4 separate regions of the Homo sapiens genome follow, and all the other regions are linked to region 2. The links are contacts of gene promoters, found by promoter capture Hi-C in blood cells and fetal thymus (Javierre and others, 2016). All regions are on one chromosome and are shown on one strand. The core of a region is centred on a gene start or on the middle of the fragment in contact, and the rest is flanking DNA. Distances in the headings are between cores, read along the strand shown. Region 1 overlaps LINC02718 (long intergenic non-protein coding RNA 2718). Region 2 holds the start of HTATIP2 (HIV-1 Tat interactive protein 2). Region 3 has its middle 7.7 kb from the start of FANCF. Region 4 overlaps SERGEF (secretion regulating guanine nucleotide exchange factor).

What was found. The method cuts DNA at HindIII sites, captures the fragments that hold promoters and counts their contacts. A CHiCAGO score of 5 or more calls a contact.
Region 1: a fragment that was not itself captured here is called in contact with the fragment with the promoter of HTATIP2 in region 2 in 5 of 17 cell types (non-activated CD4 T cells, total B cells, naive CD4 T cells and 2 more); the score reaches 13.1 in non-activated CD4 T cells.
Region 3: a contact is called between a fragment that was not itself captured here and the fragment with the promoter of HTATIP2 in region 2, in 7 of 17 cell types (non-activated CD4 T cells, total B cells, naive CD4 T cells and 4 more). The highest score is 10.8, in non-activated CD4 T cells.
Region 4: a contact is called between a fragment that was not itself captured here and the fragment with the promoter of HTATIP2 in region 2, in 1 of 17 cell types (activated CD4 T cells). The highest score is 5.8, in activated CD4 T cells.

Annotation. Positions count from the first base shown.
Region 1 is chr11:22,835,748-22,838,471 of GRCh38, forward strand. It overlaps LINC02718 (long intergenic non-protein coding RNA 2718), which reads left to right. Exons shown (of 11, transcript NR_187210.1): 3 at 2,482-2,617. Among named protein-coding and RNA genes, the nearest start is that of SVIP, 7.3 kb to the left of the region's middle. The HindIII fragment of the contact is 229 bases long and covers 1,260-1,488 here.
Region 2 is chr11:20,362,461-20,365,209 of GRCh38, forward strand. It overlaps HTATIP2 (HIV-1 Tat interactive protein 2), which reads left to right and starts at 1,254. Exons shown (of 5, transcript NM_001098522.2): 1 at 1,254-1,972. The coding sequence starts at 1,778. RefSeq lists silencers at 1,255-1,674, 1,461-1,603. The HindIII fragment of the contact is 1,649 bases long and covers 154-1,802 here.
Region 3 is chr11:22,632,214-22,634,913 of GRCh38, forward strand. It overlaps a transcript of GAS2 not described here. Among named protein-coding and RNA genes, the nearest start is that of FANCF, 7.7 kb to the left of the region's middle. The HindIII fragment of the contact is 205 bases long and covers 1,243-1,447 here.
Region 4 is chr11:18,000,148-18,002,847 of GRCh38, forward strand. It overlaps SERGEF (secretion regulating guanine nucleotide exchange factor), which reads right to left. Exons shown (of 11, transcript NM_012139.4): 5 at 350-410. Among named protein-coding and RNA genes, the nearest start is that of SERGEF, 12 kb to the right of the region's middle. The HindIII fragment of the contact is 3,312 bases long and covers 1-2,700 here.

The sequences.
Region 1 (2,724 bases), core at 124-2,623, 2.5 Mb after region 2:
TAGTCTTTGTGTACATTTTACTTTAAGGAAAAAGGTGCCTAAGGTCGACCTGCAAACTATAGAGTTCCTAAGTTCTCTTTCTCTATTTTCTGCCTGCTTTAAATCTGGTGTTACTTTCATACTGAGATAAAAAACCACTGTTTGGATCTAACCGTTTTTTTGCAAACCGGCAAATTTATATTCATCTCATGGCCAAAGTACTAAAGTAAATCTATAGGATCTTTGTGTGTGTACGTATATGTATGTATATATGTGTGTATGTATTTGAAGGCCTTCATAAATTCTATAATTTTATGTTTAATTGGAAGTTACATTCATTTTAATTTTCCTTTAGCGTACCAAACTTTTTCTTTTTGTACCTTATTACGTAAATTTTGCTATCTGATTGTCACCTGGGTTGTTTCCTTTAATATGCAAATTTATGTCTATTTAGCTGAAAACTGCTTAGGGTGGTGCAACATGTTATCGAGAATTTGAAAATCTAAAATTGAAAAAAAAAAAAAGGAAAAGGAAGTCTTTATGAATCTATAAAATGTACCTCTATCGGCATGCCTAGATATGTCCATGTATTTATGTTATGCAGTGTTTCACTGCTAAAATATATATATGTAAAGAGTTCCAATTAATTGGCTAAAAAAATAGGTAAAAGTGCTTAAATCAGAGACTTAAAAAAGAAAAGACTAGTCAAATATTTTTTCAGGTTCACATGACTTAAGTAAAATCTTTAATAAATAAGATGGCTTTAAAACTATTGGTAAAATAATATCAACAATGTTAGCATTTTGTTTGCATTTATTGATCAAGTAGTTTCATGTTTATTCCTGCCTAGTGGGCCAGATAATGCCATTGTAAGTTCTCTTTGCCCTGAGAAGGGTTGACTGCCCCACTCTTCCTATAAAATACCAAGTGAAGTACACCAGATGAAGCAGTTAATATGTTTCATATGCAAGCCATGTTGGACTAGCTTTATAACTGGGATATCCTCCTGCCAAATATGCATATTACCTAGGTCATGGTAAATTTGGGGGTTAGGGGACCCCCTTTACGTGGGTGCTCCTCTGACAGAATGACAGGACTATTTAAGTAGACTTATCAAATCTGCGGTCCCTCATAGGTCTTATAGATGTAACTCCCTGCTGGGAAACCAAATCCTTTTCACCAGAAAAGGTAAAATGGTCTGGGGGTAAAAAAGGGTTCCTGAGACCTGAACATAAAAACATACAGTTTAATAGAATTATAAAATTTAAGATGTTTAAACAAGCTTTATGTAAGGTAGTTGTAACCCCCTTTTACCAAAAAGTCTTATGAAAATGGGTACTGTATCTAACTGGGGGTTGTTTTTCTCTTTTCTAGTACTATAAAAACTGAAGACATATAAATCGGCTCTTTAGGAAATGTTATTTAAACATTTATTAAATTTATTTATTTAAAAATGTTATTTAAACACACTAAATAGGAACTAGTAAAAGCCCACAAAATATAGGGTAAAGCTTTCCTTTGCTGCATAGCCCTTTATGTGGAGCTTTTATCGGGGCTGATGGAAAAAACTGTGAGTACCTTTCAATGACAATGACCGAACTAGAGAATTTCTACTTGATAGGGCATTTACTGCCTTGCTATGAGATATTAACTGAAGCTACCCCTATGCTAATGGAAATTATGTTTCCCAAAAGAGTCCTATGATAAAATAAAAATGGCTTACACAAAATCTTGCTACTTAATAAGCAGAGAGCCTCTTTTCTAGGACTAATTGTGAGGAGCTGCTAAATTCTACAGTGCCTAATAGTTCTCATTAGCTGTTTGGTTTGTAAATGGCATTTCCCAGGTAAACAAACACTTGTTTTAAAAGCTGCGGCTCTGGTTAAAGAAGGGTCAAAAAAAAAAAAATCTTTTAAGTTATTTGGATAAAGTACATTTTTGTAAGCAAACTTACCTTTCTGAGTCCTCCAAAATTCAGATTGAATTTTATGACAATATAGTTGTCTGCCTAAGTTCAATTATAGTTTTTTTTTTCTTCAAACAATTGGAGACACTGGTTATTTTACCAAGACTGAAACTAAAATATTCTATTTTTAGGTAAACTTTCAGCAAAACCAACTCGAAAGGAGTCTATATGGCCAATCAATTCTTGCTGCATTTTATGCAGCTATTCAGGCAAGCATAATAAGCCTAAAACTTACCTTGCACGCAAATTGGCCTTGCTATAACTTTTTGTTTAATAAAAAGGGCAGCTAGAAAAAATGTTTCAAGGGTAAAGCGTAACACTTAATACTAGATTTCAGCCCTAACTTTTTGAGTACAGATTAAATCATTATTTCTTGGCTACAAGAATCCTCTAGAAAGCACCAAGTTATAATTTTTCTTCATATTTTTAGTTGGTACCCTAATGTAATAGGTTCCTTTTTCTATTCTGATCTATGAATTACTCCTATAATTGTCAAACTATAAATGTTAATTATCTCTCCTTGTTTTACATCCAAGGAAACCAAAATCATGGTATTTTGAAAACCAGAGGTATGAATCTCCCTCGTTTGGCATCCCACTGGGCCTGGACCTGTTTCACTGCTAATGTTCTGCTGCCAAAACTATACAAGCTGCCTGGACTATTGCAGAAGAGGTGGGTGCATAAGATTGTAAGGACCGGCTTTCAGGGAAAAAATTAGCTTAAGGTCAAACCCTCCAAATCAAGAAAGGGGGTACAAAAATGCCTAAACAGCAGGTAAA
Region 2 (2,749 bases), core at 4-2,503:
TTTGCTGACAAGGTTTAACATTGCATTCTTGTAGAAAACCTTTAGGAACTCAAAGGGAAGAGTCCAGGCACTGTGACAGGCCAGTGGGGAATGAACCACACTGCTCTATATTAATCAAGCTTTTTTATTGCAAACAACAGAATATATCTGGTAAGCTTATACAGCACAGGAATTTATCAGAAGAATAACAGGAAGTACTGTATTCACAACAGTCTCTGAAAACAGGCAGGAATTTAAGACAAGATCAGACCATCAGATGGCTGGTGGATCATATGATGCCATAATCCTATACCCTTGCCCCAACCAACCCACATATATCTCAGGCCTTCACTGCATCTTTTCATTACTCCTCCAAAACTGAAAACCTATGCGTGAGCCTCTGGCTTGCTGAGCCTAGGCAAAGCCTACATATAATAACTCCCATGGAGATGGAAGAGGCAATGTGTTTCATTGGCTTCTAGATGGGAGGTGGGGCCCCCAAATGACCAATGTTCCCAACAAAACCTGAACAATCTGAAATTATTCAGATTTCTGCTTGTCATTCTAACCTCTGTTCAGGACTTCCAAGATCCAGGACAGGCCCAGTGTAGATACCTGTGTCCCAAACCACTGATCTGGGCTAGGAAGACTGAATCACAGGTGTGGAAGGTCACCCGGGTTCAACCATCTAGGTGATGAATTAGGCCAGGACCTGGGCAGGTAGACCATTTATTCTGGGGAGATATGATGCGAGCTTGAATTACATGGGAGAAATATTTGTAAGGCAGATGGGATAACAGGACTTGATAAGTCTGTAGTGTGGAAAGGCTAGAAAAGAAAGGAATCAAAGGAATCCTGATTTCTGACTTGACAGGGTAGAAGGAGGTGTGTGTGTGTGTGCGTGTGTGTGTGTATGTTTATGTAGGGACAGTGACACCCAAGAGAGGCTAGGAATAGGTTTGTTTTATTCCTGTTTGGGGTGGTTGGGTAGGCAGGGTTAAGTTTTTGACTTGGTGAATTTGAGATGATGGCCAATATACAATTGACATTCCAGCTGGGGGGACCATTGAAGATCAAGTCTGGCAAGTCTACTAGCTGGCGCCTGGGTGAGCTGAGCCCAGCAGGTGAGGGAAAACGCGGGAAGAGGGTCTTGCAGATTCCAAACTTAGGAAGGGTCGCGGCTCCGCGCACGTGCTCTCGGGGTCACCTTCCCCGCGCCTGTGAGGGTGCCAGGAGTTCGTCTCCAGGTCCCGCCCCTGTGGGCGGGGCGAGGCAGCGTCGCCGCGAGGCCACCCGGAAGACCAAGCCGGGTAGGCGCTGTCTCCGTCGCCTCCAACCCCCCCGGTCCGACCAGGGAAGGTGGGATGCTCTGATGGCCGGGCCTGCGGCGCTGAGCGCGGCGGCGGCGGCTGCTCTGGCGGCCGCCCTGCTCCTGCTGCGTCGTGAGGACCCGGGGCCGGGGGCTGGCCCCAGGTAACCCCTCCGCGTATGGGACCGAGCTGGGCCAGGTCTCCTGGCCGGGCCGGGGATACCGTGGGGTATGCCCAGTGATGCCAGCAGCTTGTGGCACCTGGGCGCACCCTCCAGCTCGGGCCCCTTCCGATGGGTCTGCTGGCTCAGGTGCGGGCGATGGCCGGGGAGCCGCGCCCCGCACGTGACTCAGCACTTTCCCCAGAGCCCGGACTGCGGAGAACAATATCCTCCTCCCTAACAGATAAACAGCCCTTGTTCCTCGGGATAAGGACTGGCAGTCCCCTGACACCCTAAGACCGGCATCTGTCGATGTTATTTCCCCAGCATGGCCGAAACAGAAGCCCTGTCGAAGCTTCGGGAAGACTTCAGGATGCAGAATAAATCCGTCTTTATTTTGGGCGCCAGCGGAGAAACCGGCAGAGTGCTCTTAAAGGAAATCCTGGAGCAGGGCCTGTTTTCCAAAGTCACGCTCATTGGCCGGAGGAAGCTCACCTTCGACGAGGAAGCTTATAAAAATGTGGTGGGTATTTCAGCTGGGACTCAAATGGACCCCCAGGATTCTGCGAGGTGAACATATTTCATGCCTAAAGGCTGAATACTGCCCTGCCAGTGGTGGGGGTAGTGAGAGGCCATCAAAACTTGGCCAAGATTGGTCTGTGAGAGTCCCTCCCAGAAGTCTGACTCCTGGATTGTAGCCCAGGTGTGCCTCCCTCCCGCTCATTGTGTGGTCTTGGGCAAAGCCCTTCTCTCCATCTGCAACCCTATAAAGCTGGGTCTGGGTTGTAATGGGGGTGGGGGCTGGTGAGACAGAAGAGCACTGTTTTCAGGGTCATACAAGCTGTATTCTAGAGGCAGCCCTGGTGACCTTGAGAATTTTCTCAGCCACTTTGCTGATTTTGTCAACCTGCGCACTTCACACTAATATTGTCAGGGATTCTGAAACTGCTTTGCAGAGTGAGATAGGTCTATGGCAGTGAAAGGTGGGATTATTCACTTACAAGAATTTGCCCTGCCTGACTTCCCAGGCTTGTGTCTGTAAATCGGATATTCCCTTCACTCTAAGTTAAAGGTTTTTTTTTTTTTTTTTCTGAGACGGAGTCTCACTCTGTCCCCCAGGCTGGAGTGCAGTGGCACGATCTCGGCTCAGTGCAACCTCTGCCTTTCAGGTTCAAGCGATTCTTCTGCCTCAGCCTCCCGAGTAACTGGAACTACAGGCGTGCGTCACCACTCCTGGCTAACTTTTGTATTTTTAGTAGAGACGAGACAAGGTTTCACCATGTTGGCCAGGCTGGTCTCG
Region 3 (2,700 bases), core at 95-2,594, 2.3 Mb after region 2:
CTTTTCTTGGTTAAACTAGCTAATAGTCAAACAGTGACATATTCCCTTAGCATTTGCTTGTCTGAGAAACAGTTTATTTTTCCTTCATTTATGAAACTTAGCTTTACTGGATACAAAATTGTTGGCTGATAGTTATTCTGTTTAAGGAGGCTAAAATAGGACCATAGCCCTTTCTGGCTTATAAGGCTTCTGCTGAGAAGTCTGCTGTTAGTCTAAAAGGTTTTACCTTGTAGGTTACCTGATGCTTTTTTCACACTGCTCTTGGAATTCTTTTCTTCACATTGATTTTAGATAGCCTGATGACTTTAGCTCTTGGTGTTGGCCTTTTTGCAATGCATTTCCCAGGAGTTGTTTGAGGTTTTTGTATTTGAATATCTAAATTGCTGGCAAAGCCAGGGAAGTTTTCCTTAATTATTCCCTCAAATAAATAAGTTTTCAAAACTTTTTGCTTTTTCTTCCCACTCAGGAGCATCAATAATTCTTAGGTTGGCCCTTTTACATAATCCCATGTTTCTTAGAGATTTTATTCGTTTCTTTTCATTCTTTTTTTTTTTATTTTTGTGTGATTGGGTTAATTCAAAAACCTTGTTTTCAAGTTCTGGAATTCTTTATTCCACATGGTCTAGTCTAATGTTAAAACTTTTCCCTGCATTTCGTAATTCCCTAAATGTGTCTTTTGTTTCCAGAGTTCTGATTTTTTTTTTCTTTAAAATATCAATCTGTTTAGGAAATCTTTCATTCATAACCTGATTTTCTTTTACATTTTATTGTGTTGTTTTTCACCTTTTTCTTGTATTTCCTTGAGGAACTTAATAATCAACCTCTTGAACTCTTTATCTGGTATTTTAAAGATTTCATCTTAGTTTGGATCCATCGCTGGAGAGTCAGTGGAATCTTTGTGGTGTTATAGAATCATGTTTTTACATATTGCTAGAGTTGTTTTTCTGATTTCTTCTCATTTGGGTAGACCATTTCTTCTAATTACTTCTTGAATTTATTTTTTATTCAAATGTGGTTTTTCAATTTCTGTTTTTCCCTCTTGAGGATATGACTGTAATGTTTATAGTTTATTTTAGCCTATTTCAGCTCTTGGTGTTTTCAGTGATGAAGAATCTGTGTGAAACATCTGTATGAACTCCTTGGTGTGATGGCCTTCTCAGATGCTGGTTATAGTAGCAATGTGCTCAGTGTGTGAGCAGGTTTACTGTCTCCTATGGGGCCAGAATGACAAAGATGTCACAAAGCTTATTTTGTTCCCCAGTGGTGTACATTAATTCATTAATTAATTTATTTATTTTCCCAGTATTTTATTCACTGGGTTGAACAGTTCAGGCTTCAGGCCAGTAGGAGGTGTTCATGGGTAAAAACAGGCTGCAGCTAAAGCAGGTGTGGAATGCAATATCCAGTGATGGGCAGAGGTCCTAACCTTGACAGAGGCAGCTGGAGAAGCTTTCAGTGAAATGCACTAAGGTCTTTTCAGGGTGAAGGGAGGAGCCACTGTAGTTCCCCAACCAGGCCAGCAGGAAAGTGATCCAACTCCCAGTCACACTCCTGACCCAGTGTTCTAGCTATTCAGATGAGACAGGCATCCCTTTTCTTCTGTAGGAATGGTGATGTTACATGTAGAAAAGGACTATGACTCTATCCCTCATGTAAGTCTGCACCTGGAGGGCACTCCTCCTGTGGGGATGCAGTCACCCGAAAGTGTTCCAGGAAGCCTCTCTACATGTGTACCCATGCCAAGCTCTTGTGGGAGAAGCCACAGCTATGTTTGCAGTGATGGGCAAGAGGAAGTGTATTAGTCTGTTTTCAAACTGCTGAGGAAGACATACCCAAGACTGGGCAATTTATAAAGAAAAGAGGTTTAGTTGATTCACAGTTCCACGTGGCTGGGGAGGCCTCACATTCATGGCGGAACATGAAGGAAGAGCAAAGGGATGTCTTACACAGTGGCCAGCAAAGAGAGAATGAGAGCCAAGTGAAAGGGGTTTCCGCTTATAAAACCATCAGATCTTGTGATACTTAGTCACTACCATGAGAACATAATGGGGGAAACTGCTCCCATGATTCAGTTATCTCCCACTGGGTTCCTCCCACAACATGTGGGAATTATGGGAGCTACAATTCAAGATAAGATTTGGGTGGGGACACAACCAAACCATATCAGGAAGAAAAAGTCTTCTTCCCCAGGTTCCTTCATGAGCACCAGGGCTAGCTGACAGTTGGAGTAGAGGCACAAACTTTCTCCACTGAGCCCCACACTGCACCTGTTGTGCCTTTGCTGAAATAAACTCCCCACAAATAGACAGTTTTGGGACTCAAGGCCTGCAGTCTGGATTCTTTGGTCTCACGGGGTGCTCCCTTGATGTGGTATATTCCCACTTCCCCTAGGAGGAGGGATCCCTGAGGGCCAAACTACTGTGAATCCTGCTGCTGCTCTTCTGATTCTAGCCACCCAGTGGGGCTGCCATTCTCCAGGATGGTGCTGGGGAATGTCTGGAAGGGATCCAGTGATAGGACCTGTTCTCTAATCTCACAGTAGTGGGTACCAGCAGAAGTTCTGATGGGGGTGGCAGGGGAGTGATGTAGACTCTGTGAGATTTTCTTGGTTGTGAGATTTTCTTGGTTATAAATGGCCTTAATGTGTTGCTATTCTCAAATGCCAGCTGTAGTAGTAATATGCTGGTCACGTGAATAGAC
Region 4 (2,700 bases), core at 105-2,604, 2.4 Mb before region 2:
TTTAAAAGGCGGAGGGCAGGCTGGGCACAGTGGCTCACACTTGTAATCCCAGTACTTTGGAAGGCCAAGGCGGGAGGATTGCTTGAGGCCAGAAATTCAAGACCAGCCTGGGCAACATAGCGAGACCCTGTCTCTACAAAAAATCTTAAAAATTAGCAGGGCATGGTGGCATGCACCTATAGTTCTAGCTACTCAGGAGGCTGAGGCAGTTAGACAGCTTGGGCTCAGGAGTTCAAGGCTACAGCAAGCTATGATCGAGCCACTGCACTCCAGCCTGGGCAACAGAGTGAGACCCCATCTCTAAAAAGTATTAAAAATAAAAATAAAAAAATAAAGATAAGATGATCACCTGTAGCAGCTACTGCATGCCTCAGTCCAGCAGCAATACAAACAACCTTCTCTTTATGGAGCTGTCAAAATAAAGAAAAGGATTTAGATCTCAGAACCATCCATCTACAAAATTTTATGTAATTTATACCAAATACAATGCAGTACGGTCCTCATTATGGGTCTGACTGGTTTAAAGCAACCACTCCCCCCAATATTTCCACCCATTAATACCTCTACATTTATCCCTAAAAGAAAAAAATATATCTTTTAAAATACCATATCACAATACCATATGACAACAACTCTCAGGGCTGGGAGGCACTTCTAAGGTCATCTAGTCCAAGAGTTAGTAAATGTTTTCTGTAAAGGGACAGTTAGTAAATGTTTTACAGGCCACAGTTTCTGTCACACTACTCAGCTGTGCCATTGTAACATAAAAGCAGCTCTAGACTATACATAAATGAATGAGCATGACTGTGTGCCAGTAAGACTTTATTTACCAAGGGCTCAAAGTTTCCCAACATGATCTAGTCCAATCTCCATCCAACAACACCCCACCAAGTGGTCATCCAACTCCTGCCAAACACCTACCCCCAGTGACATAGGGATCGCCATTTCCCCAGGTGCCTGTTCCATTTTTGCACAGTTCCATTTATCTCTTTAGGTGGAACCAAACCTATCTGCCTGCAGCTTCTGACAATGCTTTCCAAATATTTGAAGACAGTTGTCATGTCCTCTCTAAGACATCTTGTAGTGGTTTTAAAAATAGGTCCTCAAATTCTTGCTACTCCTCCCTTCAAGATGTGGAGCTTAATACCCCTCCCCTTGTGTGGGCTGGACTTAGTGACATGCTTTTAATAAAGAGAATAAAGCAGCAATGAGTGACTCAGAGTCTAGGCGAAAAAAGGCACTAAGGCTTCCTGCTTAGCATCTCTCCCTCTCTCTCTCATCACTCCTGGGGGAAACCAGATGCTATGTCTGAAAAGTCCAATAGAAAGGTCCACATGGCAAGGAACATGAAACCATTAGGGCTTTACCACATTTGTTTATTTACAGGTCCACGGAGATTGCAAGCAGACCCAGCTAACATCTCAACTGTAACTTCATGAGAGACCAGCTAAGCTGTTCCTAAATTCCTGACTCTCCGAAACTGTGACATAATAAATGTTTGCTGTTTTAAGCTGCTAAGGTTTGCAGTAATTTGTTACACAGCAATAGATAACTAATGAAGATCTTTTCTTCAAAGCAAATATCCCCCATTCATCAGCCATCACTGGATTTCAAATTCCCTTCCCCTCCTGGTCTTCACTTCTCTAAATATGCTCTAGTTGTTCAATCTTTCTCTTTTAAAGGAACTCTATAGCATAATCATAACCCCATTAAGGCTTACCACATTTGTTTATTTACAGGTCCACAGTGTCTTTCTAAACTTTAGGACCCTCAAGGGCAGGACCTGAGTCTTATATACCTTTATGCCCAGGGCCTAAGCACCAAATCCACAACAAAACACAACATCCCAGATGCAGGCTGAACAGCAGAAAGGGCTGAGCTTTGGCCTTCCTTCTTCTGGAAACTATACTTCTGTCAATGGAGTCCACAATCACATTAGCTTACGAGAAGATCAAATCTTAGCGTTAATACAATTTGAACATATTGTCCTTTATATTTTTCTTTTGTTTTTCCCCAAAAAACTAACTGAAGGGCTTTACATGTGACTTCAGTCTCTTTAACACCACTCACCTCCACCTCTTACTCTCCATCCCAACTGTTGCTGCTTTAGTTTGAGCCACAATTGTTTCATTTGGATTGTTAGCAAGAGTTTCCTCAGTAACCTTCCTTCAATCCATCTTCCTATCTGACCTCCCTACCATGTTGTTCTTACCATGTGTCACATACAACCACCCTGATTGCCCCATTCCCACCCACTCTACCCTGGAACTTCCACCTCTTCCTTATATTCCAACCATACTAAACTACTTACGATATCCCAAACTCTCCTGTTTCATTCCGTTGCACCTTTGCTTACATGGTTCCTTCTGCCTAGAATGTTCTTCTTTTGCACCCACTCTGAGCATCCTCCTATCCCAAGACGGGTAAACCTCTATTTAACTTTTGAGACCTAGCTTAAGCCTCTTCTCACCCCACCTTCCCCCAGATGCTCAAAACTCCCTCCTTTGGGGATATACATGCATCTGTCATAGTTCTGACATGGTATTACATTTAAGTATTTATGTGCCTATCATGTCCTACCAAACTATAAAACTCTCAACTGCTAGGACAGGTCTTATTCAACTTTGCTCCCACTGCCTAAACATAGTACCTACACATAATGGTTGTCATTAAATAAATGAATGAATTTCTATTAAATTT